6 separate regions of the Homo sapiens genome follow, and regions 1, 2, 3, 4 and 6 are each linked to region 5. The links are contacts of gene promoters, found by promoter capture Hi-C in blood cells and fetal thymus (Javierre and others, 2016). All regions are on one chromosome and are shown on one strand. The core of a region is centred on a gene start or on the middle of the fragment in contact, and the rest is flanking DNA. Distances in the headings are between cores, read along the strand shown.

What was found. The method cuts DNA at HindIII sites, captures the fragments that hold promoters and counts their contacts. A CHiCAGO score of 5 or more calls a contact.
Region 1: a contact is called between the fragment with the promoter of MED30 here and the fragment with the promoter of NUDCD1 in region 5, in 2 of 17 cell types (activated CD4 T cells and naive CD8 T cells). The highest score is 6.6, in activated CD4 T cells.
Region 2: a contact is called between the fragment with the promoter of SLC25A32 here and the fragment with the promoter of NUDCD1 in region 5, in 2 of 17 cell types (non-activated CD4 T cells and total CD4 T cells). The highest score is 6.6, in non-activated CD4 T cells.
Region 3: a contact is called between a fragment that was not itself captured here and the fragment with the promoter of NUDCD1 in region 5, in 1 of 17 cell types (total CD4 T cells). The highest score is 7.9, in total CD4 T cells.
Region 4: a contact is called between a fragment that was not itself captured here and the fragment with the promoter of NUDCD1 in region 5, in 3 of 17 cell types (non-activated CD4 T cells, total CD4 T cells and naive CD4 T cells). The highest score is 19.6, in non-activated CD4 T cells.
Region 6: the fragment with the promoter of RAD21-AS1 here is called in contact with the fragment with the promoter of NUDCD1 in region 5 in 6 of 17 cell types (naive CD8 T cells, naive CD4 T cells, non-activated CD4 T cells and 3 more); the score reaches 15.2 in naive CD8 T cells.

Annotation. Positions count from the first base shown.
Region 1 is chr8:117,518,898-117,522,263 of GRCh38, reverse strand. It overlaps MED30 (mediator complex subunit 30), which reads right to left and starts at 1,551. Exons shown (of 4, transcript NM_080651.4): 1 at 1,211-1,551. The coding sequence starts at 1,387. LOC105375716 (a long non-coding RNA gene) reads left to right here and starts at 1,544. Exons shown (of 7, transcript XR_928569.3): 1 at 1,544-1,710; 2 at 3,087-3,225. The HindIII fragment of the contact is 1,953 bases long and covers 1-1,909 here.
Region 2 is chr8:103,413,048-103,416,536 of GRCh38, reverse strand. SLC25A32 (solute carrier family 25 member 32) reads left to right here and starts at 1,430. Exons shown (of 7, transcript NM_030780.5): 1 at 1,430-1,753. The coding sequence starts at 1,600. It overlaps DCAF13 (DDB1 and CUL4 associated factor 13), which reads right to left and starts at 1,151. Exons shown (of 11, transcript NM_015420.7): 1 at 1,021-1,151. The coding sequence starts at 1,090. RefSeq lists enhancers at 1,070-1,409, 1,143-1,764. The HindIII fragment of the contact is 9,226 bases long and covers 1-3,489 here.
Region 3 is chr8:116,749,444-116,752,579 of GRCh38, reverse strand. All of the region lies in intron 1 of EIF3H (eukaryotic translation initiation factor 3 subunit H), which reads left to right. Among named protein-coding and RNA genes, the nearest start is that of EIF3H, 4.8 kb to the left of the region's middle. The HindIII fragment of the contact is 994 bases long and covers 811-1,804 here.
Region 4 is chr8:116,767,230-116,770,389 of GRCh38, reverse strand. It overlaps UTP23 (UTP23 small subunit processome component), which reads right to left. Exons shown (of 3, transcript NM_032334.3): 2 at 24-198. Among named protein-coding and RNA genes, the nearest start is that of UTP23, 2.3 kb to the right of the region's middle. The HindIII fragment of the contact is 2,259 bases long and covers 616-2,874 here.
Region 5 is chr8:109,332,742-109,335,823 of GRCh38, reverse strand. NUDCD1 (NudC domain containing 1) reads left to right here and starts at 1,737. Exons shown (of 10, transcript NM_032869.4): 1 at 1,737-1,931. The coding sequence starts at 1,814. It overlaps ENY2 (ENY2 transcription and export complex 2 subunit), which reads right to left and starts at 1,477. Exons shown (of 5, transcript NM_020189.6): 1 at 1,350-1,477. The coding sequence starts at 1,355. RefSeq lists enhancers at 1,196-1,445, 711-1,633, 1,816-1,865, 1,996-2,045. The HindIII fragment of the contact is 6,990 bases long and covers 1-3,017 here.
Region 6 is chr8:116,872,684-116,875,707 of GRCh38, reverse strand. RAD21-AS1 (RAD21 antisense RNA 1) reads right to left here and starts at 1,284. Exons shown (of 2, transcript NR_033886.1): 1 at 723-1,284; 2 at 1-287. RAD21 (RAD21 cohesin complex component) reads left to right here and starts at 932. Exons shown (of 14, transcript NM_006265.3): 1 at 932-1,097. MIR3610 (microRNA 3610) reads left to right here and starts at 908; the gene lies at 908-980. RefSeq lists an enhancer at 935-984 and silencers at 1,095-1,414, 1,575-1,624. The HindIII fragment of the contact is 5,133 bases long and covers 1-3,024 here.

The sequences.
Region 1 (3,366 bases), core at 302-2,801, 8.2 Mb before region 5:
CTTGGGTTAGGCAAAGATTTCTTAGGTATGACAGCAAAACCAAAATCTATAAAAGAACAAATCAGTAAGCTGGATTCCATCAAAATTTAAAATGTCTGTTCTTCAAAAGACAGTATTAAGAGAATAAAAAGGCAGGATAGACTGGGAGAAGTATTTGGAAAGCATCAAGACATAACAGGTGTTGATGAGGATGAGGAGAAACTAGAACCCTCAAACAGCAATGTTTACATTCCCACTAGCAATAATCGGGACGTAAAATGGCTCAGGCCACTTTGGAAAAGTTTCTTAAAGTATTAAACAGACATGTACTGCATGATCCAGCAATTCCACTCCTGAATCTGTCCAAGAGAAATGACACATACGTTCACACAAAAATTTGTCAGCAAAAGTTCATAGCAGCATTATTTACAACAGCCAAAAAGTGGAAACAACCCAAATGTCCATCAACAGAAGAAAAGGTAGGCAAATGGTGATACATGGATACAATGGAACATTACTCAGCAATAAAAAGGAAATTATTGATGCATTCTTAGTGAAGGATCTCAGACAAAAAAAAAAGCCCACATACTGTAGACTCCGTTTATATAAAACCCTAGCAAATGCAAATTAATTTATGATTACAGAACGCAGATCAATGGTTGCTTAGCGATGGAAGGTGGGAAGCAAAGATGTCAGAGGGGTATGAAGAAACTTTCTGGGATGATGTGTACACTATTTTGATTGTGGTGATAATTTCACAAGTATACAGACTACAGTACACATATATATCAAAACTTTAGGTGAGTGTAGTTTACTGTATATTAACTATGCCAAAAAAAGGAGGACTGTTTTTTTAAAAAAAATGTAAATTCTTCAACTCCTTGGACCTCCCCAGAAGAAATGCTGGAAAAAACATTTAAAGCAACCTAAAGAGGGAAGTGGAGTGCGACCCATCTCTGCCTTGAAAGGTGCAAGAGTTTACAGAGTAACTAAAGAGCTCGATTGAATCTAAAAAAAATTGGCTTCAATTCTGCAGAAATCTGGTCTGGAAAACATCACCTCTACAAATCCGACTTTTGGGGACACTCTTGAGTGTGAATGGGGGAGACCCTACACCTAAGGTTTGCCCAGGGCAGCCCCGATGACATCCACGGGCCCCACGTAAAGAGGAAACCAGAGGCCCTTTCCCTCCCAGCTGCATCCCCCTGGCCTCGCGCGCCCGCCTTCCTACCTGCATGTTCCTCAGGAGCTGGAAGATCTCCATGGTGCGGTACACGATGTCCTGCACTGTCTCCTGCCCGATGCGGCACAGCGACGCCGTGTTGACTTCCCGGGCGGCCTGCTGAGCCTGGGGCCCGGCGAAGGGCCCGGGCGCCATCCCCGACGCGGCCAACGGAGGGGTGGACATGGCGCGGCTGCAGCTTCAGGCCGGAAGGGGCCAGACAGCAGGTGTCAGGGGTCTGCCCGGAATTGGGAGGCTGTGGGGCCTCAGCGTTGGAACCAGCTTGAGAGACCCCCCGCGGCCCGATTTCAAAACAGCGGCCGCGACTTCCGCCCACTGTGACGTAACACGTCAGAAAACGTCATAGACACCGCCCACTCGGCGAACTGTCTCCGAGCGGAGCCGGGCTGGATTGGATTGGACCCCTGGGCGGGAAAGGACGGACGGGTTAAGTAGCCAATCACCAATTGCGCTCCAGCCAGAGGGGCGATGTTCTTGGGGAGCCTGGGGTGAGTTCCCAGAGTTCGTTTCCCAGTCTTGGCTCAGCGTTAGAACCTTCTGTGTTTAGTTCCTTGCGGAGCATTTTCTCTTAACAAGCCTGAGGTTTGTAGTATAACAGCTAAGAGACAGGTTAAAGTACTTGTTGAGTCGCATACAGGTGTAACTGGCAACCTGCGATTCGAATTCAGAAAACAAGATTCCTAAGCTTGTACGCTTCTCTGTGACATGATACGGACTCCCCGATTGCTCTTGGTCCCTGCTCAGATGTTTTATTCTTTGAGTTTTCCCAGTATCTGTAAGCAAAAAAAATGATCAACACACACACTTCTTTCTGACTCTGGCTCTTATTAGTGTCTGATTTTTTTTTCTTTTTCTTTTTGAGATGGAGTCTCGCTCTGTCACCCAGGCTGGAGTGCAGTGGCGCGACCTCGGCTCACTGCAAGCTCCGCCTCCCGGGTTCACACCATTCTCCAGCCTCGGCCTCCCGAGTAGCTGGGACTACAGGCGCCCGCCACCACGCCCGACAAATTTTTTGTATTTTTAGTAGAGACGGGGTTTCACCGTGTTAGCCGGGATGGTCTCGATCTCCTGACCTCGTGATCCGCCCGCCTCGGCCTCCCAAAGTGCTGGGATTACAGGCATAAGCCACCGCGCCCGGCCTACTGTCTGATATTTTATATAGCTTTCAGTTTGTTTACTTTCAGACTTTATCTCACCCTATCTACACACACTGCCAACTCCATGAAAACAGACTATTTTATTCACTTATTCTCAACACCTAGTGATTGGCACAAGTATCAATAAATACTTATTGAATGATTGTTGAGTGACATGATAAATGCAAGAGAAATTAAAATGTCTCTCACAATGTCTCTCACTTACTGTTCATCTCCAAAGTGGGGAAAAGTGAAGAATGTAAAATTAGTGATAGGCACAAACATTGCATTTTTTAGAAGTATCTGAATGCTCCATTGTACGGACTTTCCAGGAAATAGTTACTAAATATGTCATAGGAACCCTGGTAGAGATTTTAAACATAGTAATTCGCAGGTCTTCGGTAATTACCATTCGACAAATATTGGCTGAGCACCTATTATGTGCTGGGTGCTAGGAGTGAAGATAGCGTACTGAACAAACCAGGCAAAAGCCCTGCAGCATGTTTGTCATGGGGACAAACAGAACACTATTGTGATGAGCGTCTTGAAGCAAAAGTTCCTGATATCAGGGTGCTAACAATTTAGGAGATTGAGAACGACCTGAAGGGAGCAGTGTGGAACCTGAAGGTGGATAGGGAAGGGAGTAACGAATGATAGAGTCTTTTCTATGAGGACGAGGAAGGCCAGTGCCAACACCTGAAGTGAAGAGGCCTCCTAATGCTTTCTAGGATCTGGAAGAAGTTCAGTGTGAGGACGAGTGTTAGGAAATAAGGCTGAAGACAGAGGCAACCCTGGAGGATCTTCTAACCCATGTCAAGCAGTTGAGAATTTATGGAGTGAAATAGCAAGCCATTGAAGAGTTTCAAGGTGAGAGGAATAATTTGAAATATTCATTTTAGAACACTTATTCTGGTTGCTAAATGGGGAACAGATGGTGGGTTTCTATTGTCTTCTCTCCCAAAGGGGAATGATGATGATGATCATGACCTGTGCAGAGAAAGGAGACAG
Region 2 (3,489 bases), core at 181-2,680, 5.9 Mb after region 5:
AAGGGTGTGTGCCACAGGAGGCCTTAAAAAAGATGACTGAAACGCACTGAGATTTGCAAGGGTGAATACTAAACCACTTGTGGGAAACGTAGTGACTGACTAAAGTGGCAAGGAAGGTGGGACCAGAGATTCAAGGACTGGGAACGATGCCAAATCCAAGTGACAAATCTAATTTATATTTTAGAAACATTACTGCCTTGTGACAAACTGTAAACATCTTTTGAGCAGAGACTTATTAGCAATGCTCACACACATGTTGATAATATCTCCTACTCAACCAAAATAGTGAAATACTGTTTTCGCCTCATCTCATCTCGCTTACTCCTCATTCAAACTAATGACACAGCCCTTCTTTCTATGCCTTAGGTTCATTCCTGCCTGAAGACCTTTGCTCCTGTTATTCTCTTTATTTAGAACAATCTGCTTACGCATGGTTGGTCCCTTGTCATTTAGGTATCACAAAGTACAATTTATAAGTGGTTAGCATGTTAACGGGGGAACAGACCAGGAAGGATAAATTAATTTCATTTAACCATTCTTTCATCAAACTTCTTAAGGGATGGTAAGAGAAAACTGATGCTTTTAAATTCATCTTTGTCTCTTCCAACATCCACAACTAATGTGAAGTAGTAAAGCGGCAAGAAGAGCAGTAGGAAGGTTTTAAAAGCCTGTTTAACTCTCAGCCCTTCAACCCACGAGTTTGGCTCATTCAAGTCCACTTTTCAGTAATAGGAACCTGAAGACAATCCCAGAGCAGCAGCTGGAATTTTTCTCCACTATAGACAACTGTTTCCCACTCACCACTAGAGGAAATTCTTAGAAAAAGGACTTGAACAGACTTTACTTGCTATCCATCCAGTTCCGCAGCGACTCCGTAAGCACAAAGTTTGCCTTAGCGAAAGGTAACTGAGAAAGAACCAGACCAGAGTGCCAGCCTCCCCCGGCTTTACTCCGCGAAAGCCGAGGCTAGACCCAACGACTTGCGGAAACCGTCCCTTTCTCCCTACCAACTTATCTTACCTCTCTGTAAGTCCAACTTGGTTTCGCGGACATAATTGTCCGGATTCCGGCTCAGCATCTTCACCTTCATCTCGGTTGCTCTTCCGGCCGGACTCCACGAGGTGTCCGCTAGGAGTTCCGCCCACCGCCACCTCCTCCCACAGGCGACTTCCGCTTTTCCCAGACTACTTCCAGTCACGTGACTCGCGGAGCGGCGGCCTGCTGGCTCAACTGGATCCTGCGCCGCTCCGTAGTTTTGCCGGCAAACGTTAGCAAGGGGCGGTTCTTTAGCTGTGCAGTCGCTTCCGCGTCCGTGGGCTGGAGCATTTGTGGGCGAGGCAGGGCGGAGACTCGGGAGAGGCTGGGACCTCCCCTCCATCGCGCTTTCCGCCGGCGTGACGTAGTGTCTGTGCCCCGTTCTTGCCCCCTCAGTACTAGAGTCTCCGGCTTCGCTCACGCGCCTTGGGCATAAGAGTCCTCTCGTTGGTCCCGGAGGTGGGGTTGCGCTCACAAGGGGCGACCGTCGCCACGGTGGCGGCCACTGCATCGCGTCCCACCTCCGCGGCCCTGGGCGCCGTGGTGTCGACGGGCCCCGAGCCTATGACGGGCCAGGGCCAGTCGGCGTCCGGGTCGTCGGCGTGGAGCACGGTATTCCGCCACGTCCGGTATGAGAACCTGATAGCGGGCGTGAGCGGCGGCGTCTTATCCAACCTTGCGCTGCATCCGCTCGACCTCGTGAAGATCCGCTTCGCCGGTAAGAGCCCGCCCAGACACCGGGCTGCATCCTCTCACTGTCAGCCCGAACTGGATCTCCTCCGTCTTTTCCGTTCTAGGGGGAGGAGGAGCGTTGAAGGGAGCGTTGCTGTCCGCGTTGGCTAACCTGAACTAGATTTGAGGAAATGGTGCTTGGTGGAGGGGTCGGCCTGCGATCTTCCCCGCTCCTCAAGACTAAGAGAGGGGGCATGTATGTAGAGAAGTCTGAGAAAAAACATCCTCATTGGCAGAGAAGATGGGATTCAAAGCCTGATTTGTAAAATAAAGAAGGGATTGTCACATTTTAAGGTTTAGTCCTCACACGTGCAAATCATTCACTCTTGGAGGAACTTTGAAATCTTAGCATACCCACGTGGTTTGGCAGCTCGACTAGTATTGGGATAGGGCGTAATCTTCAGCGAATGGTTGGGAGTAGATTTAGAATAGAATTCTCTTGAATGTTTGTTTTTTGGCATTTGTAGAATGGTACAAGTTTCTGTGAAAAAATAGCTAGAATCGAAATACTATTTTAAGTGTATTAGATGAATTGAGTATGTTGAAATTAACAAAGCATTTTAGAAGTTAAACTCAACACTAAAGTCTGGAAAGAGTTTCAAAGATGATCTTTGATAACTGAAATTGCAGAAAATAGTTTCCAAATAAAGTTATTACAAGTTAAGTTCAGCCTTGAGAATTAAATCTACAGAAGTTGTTTATTTTAGCATTAGGCAATTCAGTTCACTTGATTTATATTCTCTTAATATTTGTAGACTGCTGTATGGGCTACAGAAGTATCTAATAAAGTTCTTGCCTTCAGGGAACTTAGAATTTAATTGTAGGCGTTAGACTTAGTCATATAAAAGGTAATTCTAGACAACATAAAATCAAGAAATACAAAAACAAAATATAAATACAGGTAAACCGTTAAGAAAATTCTACATTACTGATGGCCATGTGTATCTTTAAGGTTCAGTGGAAGATTGGGGCTTGGGGTTTCCCATAGAAGGGCTAATATTTTGACAGCTGGAGAGGAAGCAAGAACCCGTTCTATGAAGGAAAATCATCGAAAATTATGGAGTATTATCTCTAGAAAAAACACCACAAAGACATATAATGTCATGAAGTTTTATGATGCATGCACAAATAATTATGTTATTGACAAGTAATCTTTATCGAGTATTTACTAGGAGCAAGGCAGTGAACTATGCTTTAGATGCATTATCTCATTTATTATCCTGTAAATCTATTCACAGGAACAATCCTGTGAGTTTATGATATCTGCTATACAGATGAGGATAACAGAAGTTGACTAACTTGCCCAAGTCACAAGTTTGTAAAGATGGATCTGGGATTTAAACCCAGGTAATCTAACTCTGGAACCCTCTGGCACTTAACCCCTCACCGTATTACCTCTATAAGTACCTGTTATACAATGGTTTGAACATTGGAAGAATTTTAGACTTGCCTGCAGGTGCAGGCCTGTATGACTTGCTGTCTGTCTTCAGTAGCATTTTATCTAGGAGCAGAAGAGGTGATAGTCGAGGTGATCATTGAAGAATAGTGTGGTTGGCCTGATGAGTTTAGACAGTGCTTTGAAGCATATCATTCCTGAGGAAAGGGAATTCTTGGTACCTGAGAAGATTAATAGTCTTGATGAATTGGGAAGAGTATTAGGAGACTAGTGGGGCTGAGGTGACAGATAAAAGGATTGAGTTTGGATTGGAGGCCTAAATTAAA
Region 3 (3,136 bases), core at 58-2,557, 7.4 Mb before region 5:
GATCCTTATTCCAGCAGTAAGCATGACCTTGGGGAAGTTATTAAATTTTCTAGGCCTCAGGTGTATCCTTTGTAAAATGGGGATGATGATAAAGTAGTAACTCATAAGGGTTGTGAGAATGAAATTCCGAGGTATTTAAAGTGTTTAGTATAGTACCTGTGTCATCGTAAACACTCAGATTACTGTGTCTTTACCACTCTCATCCTTATTAATGTTTCTCAAATCATTTCGAATGCTAACTTTGCTAATGTAGATTGGAATTGTAGAAAGAGCACTTCAGTGCTCCTGGTAATCAGGAGACATGCATTCCAGTCTGCATCCACCAGTAACTAACAACACTTCTATGATTGTTTTACTCCAAAGGTACATTTTCTCATCCACAAAATGATTGCCACTATCCCTATCAATTTTCATGGTTTATGGTTTCTTTCTTTTGCTTTCATACCTGAATCCTGAGGGTTCTTATTGGTGTGTGACCCCAGTCAATCACTATCCTTCCTTTTAGGCCACTTACTCCTTTCCTTTTATGTTTCTTCTCCATCTGTGCATATTGGAGTGCCTCATGGTTTAGGTTTTGGCTTTTCTTTTAGTCTCTGCTTGACATAGGTAGTGTAACGAAGTTGATAAAAGTACATGCTCTGGAGCCAGACTGCTTGGATTTGAATCCCAGCTCTGAAATTTGCTGCATGACATTGGGCAAGTCTTTGTGCCTCATTTTCCTCATCTGAATTGTTTTGAGACTTTAAATGGATTGAATATATGTCAATAACTAGAACAATGTCTGGGACAGAATAAGTCACCATTTAAGCTTTGCTGCTGCTTTATTTGCAGTAATTATAGTAGTATTCTTTAAGGTATTCTTATCTGTGCTCACGGCTTTAAATATTTATATTCTAATAAGTCCTAGATTTATATTTCTGCCAGTAATGGCTCTTGAATGCCTCTTTTGAATACCCATTGCCTGTTTGACGTCACTATTTGGATATCTCATAGGCATCTCATATTTAACATGTACAAAATAGAATTATAGACTTGTTCTTCTCCTTACTTTCCATCACAGCACCCTATATTTCTAGAATTTTCCACAGCCTGTAACTATCTTGTTTGTTTTCTTCTTTGTTTTCCTCATCAGAATGTATGCTACTGAGGGCAGGGACTATGCTTTTTCACCTGTTTTATCTCCAGTGCTGAACCTGTTAATTCACAAAGTAGGATAAATGAATGAGTATGTATTCCATTTTATTATTTATACTAATTTATGTTCTAATATCTTATGCAGGTTATTTTAATATTGTTTTCCCCTGCCTTCTTCAGTCTACCATTCATACTTTTATTTTATTTTATTTTATTTTATTTTATTTTTTTTTTGAGACGGAGTCTCGCTCTGTCGCCCAGGCTGGAGTGCAGTGGCGCAATCTCGGCTCACTGCAAGCTCCGCCTCCCGGGTTCACGCCATTCTCCTGCCTCAGCCTCCCAAGTAGCTGGGACTACAGGCGCCTGCCACTACGCCCGGCTAATTTTTTGTATTTTTAGTAGAGACGGGGTTTCACCGTTTTAGCCGGGATGGTCTCGATCTCCTGACCTCGTGATCCGCCCGCCTCGGCCTCCCAAAGTGCTGGGATTACAGGCGTGAGCCACCGTGCCCGGCCTCATACTTTTATTAAAACGTTTATTTAACGTGAACATTCAGATTTTAACTTCTTTCCTTAGATGTTTTCAGTGACTTTCCATTGAATTGAAGGACCAAAATGTTGTCCTTGTTTCTTGCATTTATGTTCAGGTTTATTTCCTTTCTTTCCAAGCTTTGTAGGAACTGTACATTCCAGCCCCTCAGACTACTTAGTTTTTTCTTTAATAAGTCATGCTAAAGGCCAGGTGTGGTGGCTCACGCCTGTAATCCCAGCACTTTGGGAGGCCAAGGCAGGCAGATCACACGAGGTCAGGAGATCAAGACCGTCCTGGCTAACATGGTGAAACCCTGTCTCTACTAAAAATACAAAAAATTAGTCGGGCGTGGTGGCGGGTGCCTGTAGTCCCAGCTACTCAGGAGGCTGAGGCAGGGGAATGGCATGAACCGGGGAGGCGGAGCTTGCAGTGAGCCGAGATTGCACCACTGCACTCCAGATTGGGCGACAGAGCGAGACTCCGTCTCAGAAAAAAAAAAAAAAAAAAAAAAGTCATGCTAAAGACAGACCTAGAGTCACATCCTTATTCAAAGCAGTAAGCATGACCTTGCTTTTGTTCATGAAGTTCTTTCTCTTTGAAATTGTTCTCTTTCATCATCACATATTGAATAAAAAATGTGACTTAATCGACTTACTCTGTTTTTTTAAAAATTCTCCATATAGTTTAACTTGAATCTGTATACTCCAGATGTATTCTGTTCTTCATTCATTTAACAAATATTTATTGATTGCCGACCACATGCCAGGTCTAGCCCTGCTACATGCTGGGGTATATTGCAGTAACCTATATAAGATATTATATAGGTGAGCAAGGTAGAACCCAGTCCCGACTCTCATGACCATTCTCAGTCATATATAGATGTAGATGAACCCAGAGATTAATCTCATCCTATGTTTAGCCTGATGTTTTAACACATTTGTTCCTTCCTGGCACATTGATAGTGGCCAAGACCAATTTTTCTTGTATTTTTGAACCCTTCCTTTCCTACCTTTAGACCTGTTTCATCACTTCCTCTGTATCTGTAATGTAGCAGTCCCTCCACAGGGCTTGTTTTCCAAAGAAAAGTAAGCCCTCCACAGGGCTTGTTTTCCAAAGAAAAGTATCATTTGGAGGAGCAAAGTTATAAGCCTACCTAAGCATGTCGTAAAGCTGTTCAAAAATAACTCAGAGCTAGTCTTGTGGATGGAAATGTAGTGCCTGAGTCACATTCTGCTTAAAGTTGTAACAAATACAGATGAGTTAAAAGAAAAAAAACAAAAATAAAGAAAGAATGGGTCTTCATTCTGTCAGGTGGTCTCATTGTTCCTAGACAAGATCAAGCTAATTCTTCCCGTTAAACTTTTCATGTTGAACCCACTTTGTTCCCTAGAACATTTGAATTTTACCTTTCTTATGTTCATTAGACCTTGCTATTCAAAGTATGATCCATGTCCAGTAAGATGAGCAATGT
Region 4 (3,160 bases), core at 496-2,995, 7.4 Mb before region 5:
TGTGGTTTTAAAAGTAGTATCACCTGTGTTGCCACAAAATAATGATGAGGATTTCCCTCTTCAACCATGGAAAGCAGACATTCTGATCCACTCACTGCATTCTTGAAATGAGGACAATTTCGAACTTGGCATTTTTGTGCAATCAGTTTTGCCCCATATAAGTCCTTTCCCAATGTTTCTAGCTCTTTTAACACACATCTGAAAAGAAAAATTATAGCAGATACATTTCACTTGTTTACATAAGGTGTAAAAAACAATAGTCGATTTTTTCTTAAAATAAAACTATGCTGTTACAATCTAAATTTGTCATCTGGTAACCATTTACTTTAAAAGATCACTTGAAAAATGCATTTACCAAGTAGGAAGAACAACAGTTAAAATTAACTGAGCACTTATTATGTTCCATGTAGTATGCAAATTGCTCTTTACATAAATTCTTGATTAATCTCAAAGTAACCCTATGAAGTTAGGTCGCTTACCTTGAAATTATCCTTATTTTAGAGCACCCCATTCTGAGATTTCAAGTAACATGCCAAAGTTCAAGTAACTAGCAAGTGGTACCGAGACTTGCAGTTTGACAACAGCTCCCTTGTCCCAACCATAGCGTAATAAGCTTCTGCTTCAAGTACAAATTGGTATACTTTCAAAACATTTTCAATTCAGAACAGTAAAACTTCTCACATCATCAAGTTGTTTTTAAAAAAACATTTAGTCATAAGAGTTCCTCAACCCTAGCCAGCATTTGCCAGATTCTTTCTTGCTTCATCTCCTTTATCATCTTTCTGTTTCAAGAAGATTTTGCTTGCTTTAGTCATTAGACTTGACCTCTATTTTGAGTACTGCCAGCCTGTGGATGTCCTGCTATCAACTCTTCAAATTCACCATGTCTAAGATCAAACCACTTTCCTGTATCCAAATTTATCCTCCAAGACTTGCTATCTCTTTGAAATTACTATTTTCCCAGACACCCTAGATAGAAATCAGAAATCACATTTGACCTTCCTGCCCTTCTTCACCCATACTCCTATGCCATCAGCTGCTCAACCTATCTATCTCAGTAACGTAGCGTTTCTTTGGAGAACCCTTGGGTTCCTGCCTTTCCTCTCCCAGGTTTAGGCTCCCCTTACTTCTTGATTAAACAACCGCAAAACAGATTCATGCCTTTGCTCTCTTGTTTCTCCAATTTACCCTTCACATCACTGCAGTTATCTTTTCTAAAATAAAACCCAGGCCTGATAACATTCTGCTGTTCTACTTCATCAATTAACTCCACACATCTTCAAACCTGAATATCAGTAAACTCTGTAGAGACCTAACTACTAGTGGCCAAGAAATATATTCCACTGAAAAACGAATGACCTGATTTCTTAAAAACATAAATTGCAAAATTTAAAGGGAGGGGAAACTGCCAAAATTTTTAAAAACTGCCTGGCATGGTGGCTCATGCCTGTAATCCCCATGCTTTGGGGGCCGAGGTGGGTGGATCACCTGCGGTCAGGAGTTCAAGACGAGCCTGGTCAACGTGGTGAAACATTGTCTCTGCTAAAAAATACAAAAATTAGTAGGACGTGGTGTCACACATCTGTAATCTCAGCTACTTGGGAGGCTGATGTAGGGAAATCACTTGAACCCGGGAGGCGGAGGCTGCAGTGAGCCATGATCGCACCACTGCACTCCAGCCTGGGCAATAAAGTGAGACTCCATCTCAAAAATAAATTTTTTTAAAAAACTTAAGTGACATATAAATCAAATGTAATATATGTATTTAGTTTGAATACTGATTTTTAAAAGCCTTCTTTATCTTTTCAAGATACATGCCAAAGAAGTGATAAATAATATGCTCCAAAGCAACCCATCAGTAAGGAGAGGTGAGGGATTCAACAAGATTGGCCATGTTAATAACTGCAAAAGCTGGAGAGAGGTTTCATTATATTATTCTACCTTTGAGTTGTCTGAAAAATTCCAGAGTTAAAATAAATTTGTTAGAAAAATTGCTGTAGAATATAATTTTATGTGGCACTTCTCAACCTTTTTAATATCATAGCACTATATTTAAAATGTTAATATTTCTATGGCACACAGGAGTATATGGACAAATTGCTTGTAGACAAAAGCAATCAATTCAGGAGCAAAGACTACTGAAGGATTTGTTAGACAGCCCTAAAGACTAAGGGGATCAAAACTTTGGGGGTATCTGTAACCCAGCCGAGACCCTGCTTGAGAAATTCTGAACAAATACAGATAGCTGTTCATTAAGTAATCGTATGTGAGGAAAAGGAGACTATTAACACAGTATACACAGAAAAAGCCCATACTTTGTTATGGCTGTAGTTAGAGATGGGGGTTTCCTACGTTGCTCAGGCTCACCTCAAACTCCTAGACTCAGGCAACCCTCCTGTCTCAGCCTCCTGTGTAGCTACTAGGATTACAAGTGTGAGCCACCTTGCCTGGCTTAAAAGTCCATTCTTGTGCTTGTGTGAGTGTGTATAAAGAACTGGATGGATGACACTGCACATGTTAACAGTGATTATTCGTGAGTAGTGGTATTATGAGTCATTTTAATTTTCTTTTTTTGCTTTTTAAAAGTAAATATTCTACAATGAAAAAACTACTAAATTTCTTAATAGTTCTTCATGGCCTAGCCTCAATTTGCCTTCTTCCTAGTTTCACTCCCAAATATATTCTGTGCTGCAACCTCTTTCCCAGGCATTTCATAACTCCATTTCGTGTGAAGAGGTCTCCACAACAAGAAGTGTCATTCTTTTCTGTCATTCAAAATAGTTCTTCCTCTCAGAACTGAACAAGTGAATGGGCTCAAATGTTATCTGAAATCTGTCACAATTCTCTCCTCTCTCCTCTTCATCCCGACAAGCTTCCATCCTAAGTGTTCCCACATTTCAATGAAGTGGGGAAACATCAGACCTAGAGTGAAAACACACACTGCAGACTGACTTATGCACTTTACTGGCCATGAGGGAGCAGTATGTGGCATATAGGAGGTACTTAATAAAGCGAGTTGAATAAACAAATGTGCTTGGGCAGATTCCTTAATCTCAAGTACTGACTTTTTGCCCTGGACATCAAAGATGGTAACTCACAGGTTCACTGTGAGGCTTGCAGAGTTTTGGTTTAAACTAAGAAAAGCTATGCAAATGACAGC
Region 5 (3,082 bases), core at 488-2,987:
GAAAGGCAAAATTTGAACTCAAGTACTTTGACCCTAGGAGCTCCAAAACTGAACATAACTGCCGATCACTTCTGCAGAGACTGCATCCAAAAATTGGGAGAAGTCATACATACTAAACATCAAAAAAAGATTAAATACTATTAGTAAAAAAATAAAATTACCAGGCCGGGCACAGTGGGTCACACCTGTAATCCCAGCACTTTGGGAGGCCCAGGCAGGTGGATCACGAGGTCAGGAGTTCAAGACCAGCCTGACCAAGATGGTGAAACCCCGTCTCTACTAAAAATAGAAAAATAAGCTGGGCTTGGTGGCAGGTGTCTGTAATCCCAGCTACTCAGGAGGCTGAGGCAGGAGAATCGCTTGAACCCAGGAGACAGAGGTTGCAGTGAGCCGACATTGCGCTGCTGCACTCCAGCCTGGGTGACAGGGCAAGACTCTGTCTCAAAAAAAAAAAAAAAAATTAATTAATCAAAAAAAATAAAATTACTAGATAAGGCTCTAAGTGTTTTGCTTTACTCTTCACTAGGATGAACCCACAATTACAACTGCTAAACCTAAGTGTGTGGATGTGTGTGTTTACACACACACTGCTGGTGGGATAAGAAGAAAACAAATCTCAAACTAATTCCTAACTTACAAAGTCCTCAATTGTCAGTAAAAACAGACAACCCAAACCAAAATGATGTTGAAAGAAGAGGAAAGTTAGGTTTTGAAAGCGTTAAAGCCACTTAAAAGTTTAAATTAAATAAAACTTGGCGTAAACTAACGTTTTCCCACCTAATCTGTCACTAACTTGAGATTACTTTTGTTGTCTTCCATCTGGCCTATTGAAAATTCAGACTGGCAATGAGTTACCAGAGTTGATTTTTTTTTTCTTTTTTGAGAGGAACAGGGAAAAGGAGAAGTTGAGTGAGAACTAGGAAATGCTTGCTTTTGTAATTGGAGGCTAACATTTTCAAAATAACTACAAGGTCTAGTCAGTACCACTCCTGGAATATTGAACTTGATCTCGTCTTGGCTCCTAAAATACGGATAGTGACCTTGGACAAGTCACTTAATTCTTAAAGGCCTCAGTTTTCTCACTGGTAAAACAAGGGCGCTAGGGTATCCCTCCCAGTTCAGACATTCTTAGGGAAAATAGAACAGGGCGGAGACAGCGGGAGAGGCGGGAGAGGAGGAGCCAGAAAACAAAGCGAGGACTGGTTTCAGGCCAACTCCGGTAGCACGCCCTGTCGGAGAGCCCTACAGGCCCGCGAGCGCGGGTCGGGGACGCTAACGAAAGACAGTACATCGAAAGGAGCCTGGGCTGGGCCCGGGTCCCGGCCCTGAGGACCACGGGCATAGCTCACCACCATCACCGCGGGCGAGGGCCGTCCCTTCCCAGCGACGAAATGACCCTTGCGCTGAGGACCGTTACCTACCACACTCTTCGGCTGCCCGGACTTAGACCCTCAGTAGCTCGGGCACCTAAGCACACAGAAAGCTAGAACACGCATTTCCGGGGCGGGGTCTCGCCACCCTGCCTATAATGTGAGAATTTAACCAGCGCGGGCCGCCTCCTGGTTGCTAGGGCCTCTGGGTAACAGAGTTCAGACCTTGCCGTCGCGCGCGCGTTAAGTACCAGGAGAACTACATAGCCCAGCATGCAACAGTCTCAACTTTTTCACGGACACTACATTTCCCAGAAGGCAGTTCGCACCGCAGTGTTTTCTGGGATGGGAACCACGCCGCTTCCCAGTCTCTGTGCGAGGCGTGAAGCGCGGACCTTTCAACAAGGGCTTTATTAATTCTCACGCTGCGGCCCTGGAAAGCGATGGAGGTGGCGGCTAATTGCTCCCTACGGGTGAAGAGACCTCTGTTGGATCCCCGCTTCGAGGGTTACAAGCTCTCTCTTGAGCCGCTGCCTTGTTACCAGCTGGAGCTTGACGCAGGTGGGAAGCGGCGGCGCCCTTCGTACTCCGTTCCTTTCCCCTTTCGGCTGCCTCCGGCCTGACCCTTCCCGCAATTTCTTTCTTTCTGACTGGCAAGCGAAGCCACCGTGGCGGCTTGCGTGGACTCACGGAGGCCGCTGCTTCTGGGGAATGATGCCCATCCCAGAACCCGGTGGGAGCCGCCTTCGCGCGCTCTTCGGTAACGGGACCCTGGGCCCCCTCCGTCAGCAGCCCAGCCTCTGAGGTCTGAGGTCTGAGGGCTGGCGTGCGGGTAGTGCCTGGGGCTCTGGCTGCTGTGTGTCCACAGCCTGGCTTCTGTTTCGGGGGACGCTGAGAACATTCCTTCCTCCTGGAGCATCGCTTGTGAACGTGTGCGTTGAGAAACCACACCTCCTTGGAGGACCCCCAGTTCCTGTTTCCTCTGACCGAGAGCCGTTTCTTAGAAGAGAAACTACATTCCAGTCATAGCATTTTTAATTACTCAGTTCCTGGCACATTAAGAACTCTGGTAGAGAACATCTCTAGAAGATAGTGAGGAAAAGTGGATTTACTCCCACACTGCTACTCCTTGCTTTATCTGTAGCTGGTAGAATATCCTTACTCTTGTTTTTACAACTTAACGGCATTTTCGTTATGATAGAGCCCAGAGATCTGCATTTTAAAATTCACACCCCTGCTGATTCTGATGCATGTTTTCAGAGATCACACTTTGAGAAATAGTGATCTACAGTTAATTATAATAACAGACATTAAAGTATAAAATAAGTTTATGCTAATTGATTTATTAAATTCAGAAATATTTACCGAGTACCTGTTTTGTGTTACGTCCTGATAATATCAAAATGAACAAGACACCTTCCGTAACAAAAGAGGACTATTAGCTAGTTAGGAAGAAAATTGTAAACAGATAATTGTAAAACAATATGGGAAGGCAGTGATAGGGATATGTACAAAATACAATGGTAGTACTTGAATATCTTTCCTAAACTAGTCTGGGGATCTGGGAAGGCGTCTTGGAGGAGTTAATATCTAAGTTGAGCTTTGAAGGGTAGGTTAAGAGTTGACTAGGATGAGAGAGGATAAGCTTGATTTTTCTTTTTATTTTTTTCCTTTTCCTCTTTGCCACCGTGTTTCTTCCAGTCACCCCATGT
Region 6 (3,024 bases), core at 35-2,534, 7.5 Mb before region 5:
TGTAGTATAATTTGAAGTCAGGTAATGTGATGCCTCCAGCTTTATTCTTTTGCTCAGGATTGCTTTGGCTATTCTTGGTCTTATTGTGGTTCCATATAAATTTTAGGATTTTTTTCCTCTTTCTGTGAAGAATGTCATTGATATTTTGATAGGGATTACATTGAATCTGTAGATTGCTCTGGGTAGTATGGAAATTTTAACAATATTGATTCTTCCAATCCATGAACATGGAATATATTTCCATTTTTGTGTGTCCTCTTCAATTTCTTTCATCACTGGAAAGATCTCTACAATAAAAACAAAAGTAAATTTCTTCGTGGTACAAGTAAGTCTTTTAAGATAAGAAATTTTAAGATTCCTCCCAAGCAATACTGAAAATTTCCAAAAGGCAGTTATTATCTCTGTTATATTAATCATTATATCCAGAGCCCAACGTGTAGCAAACAGAAGACCCTCTATAATATAGGTTGACTGAATAAATGAACCTCTATATTTTATGGAATTAGTTTGAGGTTTTTATGTTACTTTCATCCCTATAGAGCCATAAAATGAATTTTTTGGTGGGGGCACACAAAATTGCACCACGACAGCTTTTTTCTTTAAAACAAGCACAAGAATAAAGCTAAACGCAAATATTCACCGCACTGGAAAGCACTGCGCGTGCGCTATCTTACGCTATTGGCTAACACCGCAACTCTCAAAGACCCTCGCAAGAGAATCACCTTTGCGCTTGCTCAGTTGTGGACTCCACAAACAGAGGGCGGGTTCCAAAGAAAAGGAAATAGTCATTGCGCCTGCGCCGCTCCTTCTGGGGGGAGGGGGGGGCTTGGGCTGGCTGCGCAGGCGCACAGGTACCATTTTGACCGTAAACATCCTGCCGATTTGAACCGAGGATTTGGGCGGCAGGAAGAGCCGCGGCGTAACGGCAGCCATCTTGTTTGTTTGAGTGAATCGGAAAGGAGGCGCCGGCTGTGGCGGCGGCGGGAGCTGCTCGGAAGCTACACCTCGCAAGGGCTCCCCCCTTTCCCCACCCCCTCCCCCGACCCTTTTCCCCTCCCCGGGCCACCCAGCCCGCCCAACTCCCAGCGGAGAGCAAGGTAAGAGACTCGGCCGACCCCTTCTTTTCCTCCAGCTCCCTCCCCCCACCCTTTCCCCGCCGCTCTGCCGTCGGGGAGCCGGACTCCTGGGGGCGGGAGGGCGAGGGAGAAGGCAGCCCTCGCCGCGCCCACGCGTGCTGCCACCCTCCCGGCGCCCAAGCGGCGGCGCCACCCGCCCAGCCCCCTTCGCCCCGGGCCCGCCCTCGGCCCGGACCCATGCAGCTTGGGCCCGCATCATCGCTTGTTCGGTAACAAATGATTCTGATCCATTCTGAGATCTACAAAGGCTGTTACCCTGCAGGTCCATCTCACGTCCCCCAGGAGGCCGGGGAAACCCTGGGCTGCGGAGGGAGGGGAGGAGGTTTGAACGAGCCCGCTCTGGGGACCGGGCCGCCTACTCCGCGGGTAAAAATGGCTGTCTGGGAGGAGGCGGTGGCGGGCCCGGCGCCCGCGGTGCCAGCCCCGGGAGCAGCAACCTTCCGCCGAACTCGGGTGCGGGGCTCAAGAAAGTGCGGAGCTGGTGGGGCTGGGCGGGGTGGGGCGGGGGGTCGGCGGGTGCCCCTCGGCCAGTGACTGCTGCTGCCCTCCCGTTTTAAAAAGATAATTTTTACGTTGGGAATGCTGAATATTTCACAGACGCGTGGAAAAAGAGACGGAGGGAAGTTGCTTCTTTTTCCAAGGATATTTGCATAATTGGTTTTCCCCTGAACTTTTCTGATCATTCTTTAAAGTGATTAAGGATATCGGGTGTTGTAGAGACGCTCTGGGGGAGGTGTGTGTTTCTGATAAATGCTTGATGCCCTTTTCGTCGCTGAAAAAGGCTTTTTGCGAATGATCCGCTTTGATAGTGTGGGGTGACACTGTCGGGTTGTGCTGCCAGACTTAGCGGCCTTCTTCAAATTTGTAAGAGGGAAACCCTGGGGGATTTACTTGGTCACTCTGATTTGTTAGTGTCTTCAGCGTGAAAAAAAAAACAGCGTTTGTGCGAAGAGTTTCTGGGAAAGGCTTGTGTTTATCGGCTTCTTTTTGCAAGGGAAAGTTAATCTTTGTTGTCATTATACTGGTTAGAAGAGTAATTGGTTTTCAGGCAAAAATTTCTATTTTCTTAAATTGGGTGTAAATGCCAGCGGGCAGTGCGAGTCTATAGAATTTTGGAGACAGGCAGGAGAAGGTTTCTCAAATCGTGAAGTCATTAAATACCTTTGTTAATGTCGGAGGCAACTAATTATTTTTGGAAAGGCATTGATGAGGACATACGCCATATCTGATCTTCAAATAAGTTAACAGTTTGTATAGTTGAGGTGACAGCAGTGCATAACTAATAGACATAGTGCTTTTTTTTATACACAAGTCAGAATTACAAAAGAATTTCTGGTGAATTATTTTGTGAAACATACAAATTCTAAGAAACGCTTTTACAGTTTGGTACAGAATGGAAATTTTCTAATTCTTGAGAAATAAGGTTGTGTTTTTAGTTTAAATGTCAAACCAGAGTTGTTAGGCATGATTATACTGGCTGGTTAATGTTTTGCTGCAAGATTGTCTTCAGAGTTACTTTTCGCATCAGCAGTGGCACTATGTTAGGTGTGCCCTTGTATTTAATTTTCATAATCTTTTTTGATGAATATTATCCCAGTTTATAGTTGAGAAGTAACTTATTCACCGTTACAAAACAACTGAGCAAAGAGGGAGCTTAATTTGAACCTACGACTGTCTGATTGTAAAACTCTTGGTCAAAGGATGTTAGAACCAAAACAGAGGAGATTTCTAGTGTGCAGGGTTAGAAATATCTTCAGAGATCCTTCCCCCTACTCCCCTGAAGAGGTAGCTCCGTTCTGATCTGAGTTAGGTATTGACGTTTTCAAAGGTTAGGTAAACCACCAGATTTCAACCTTTCAGGTTTTCATAGTAGGGAAACTGAACTGCA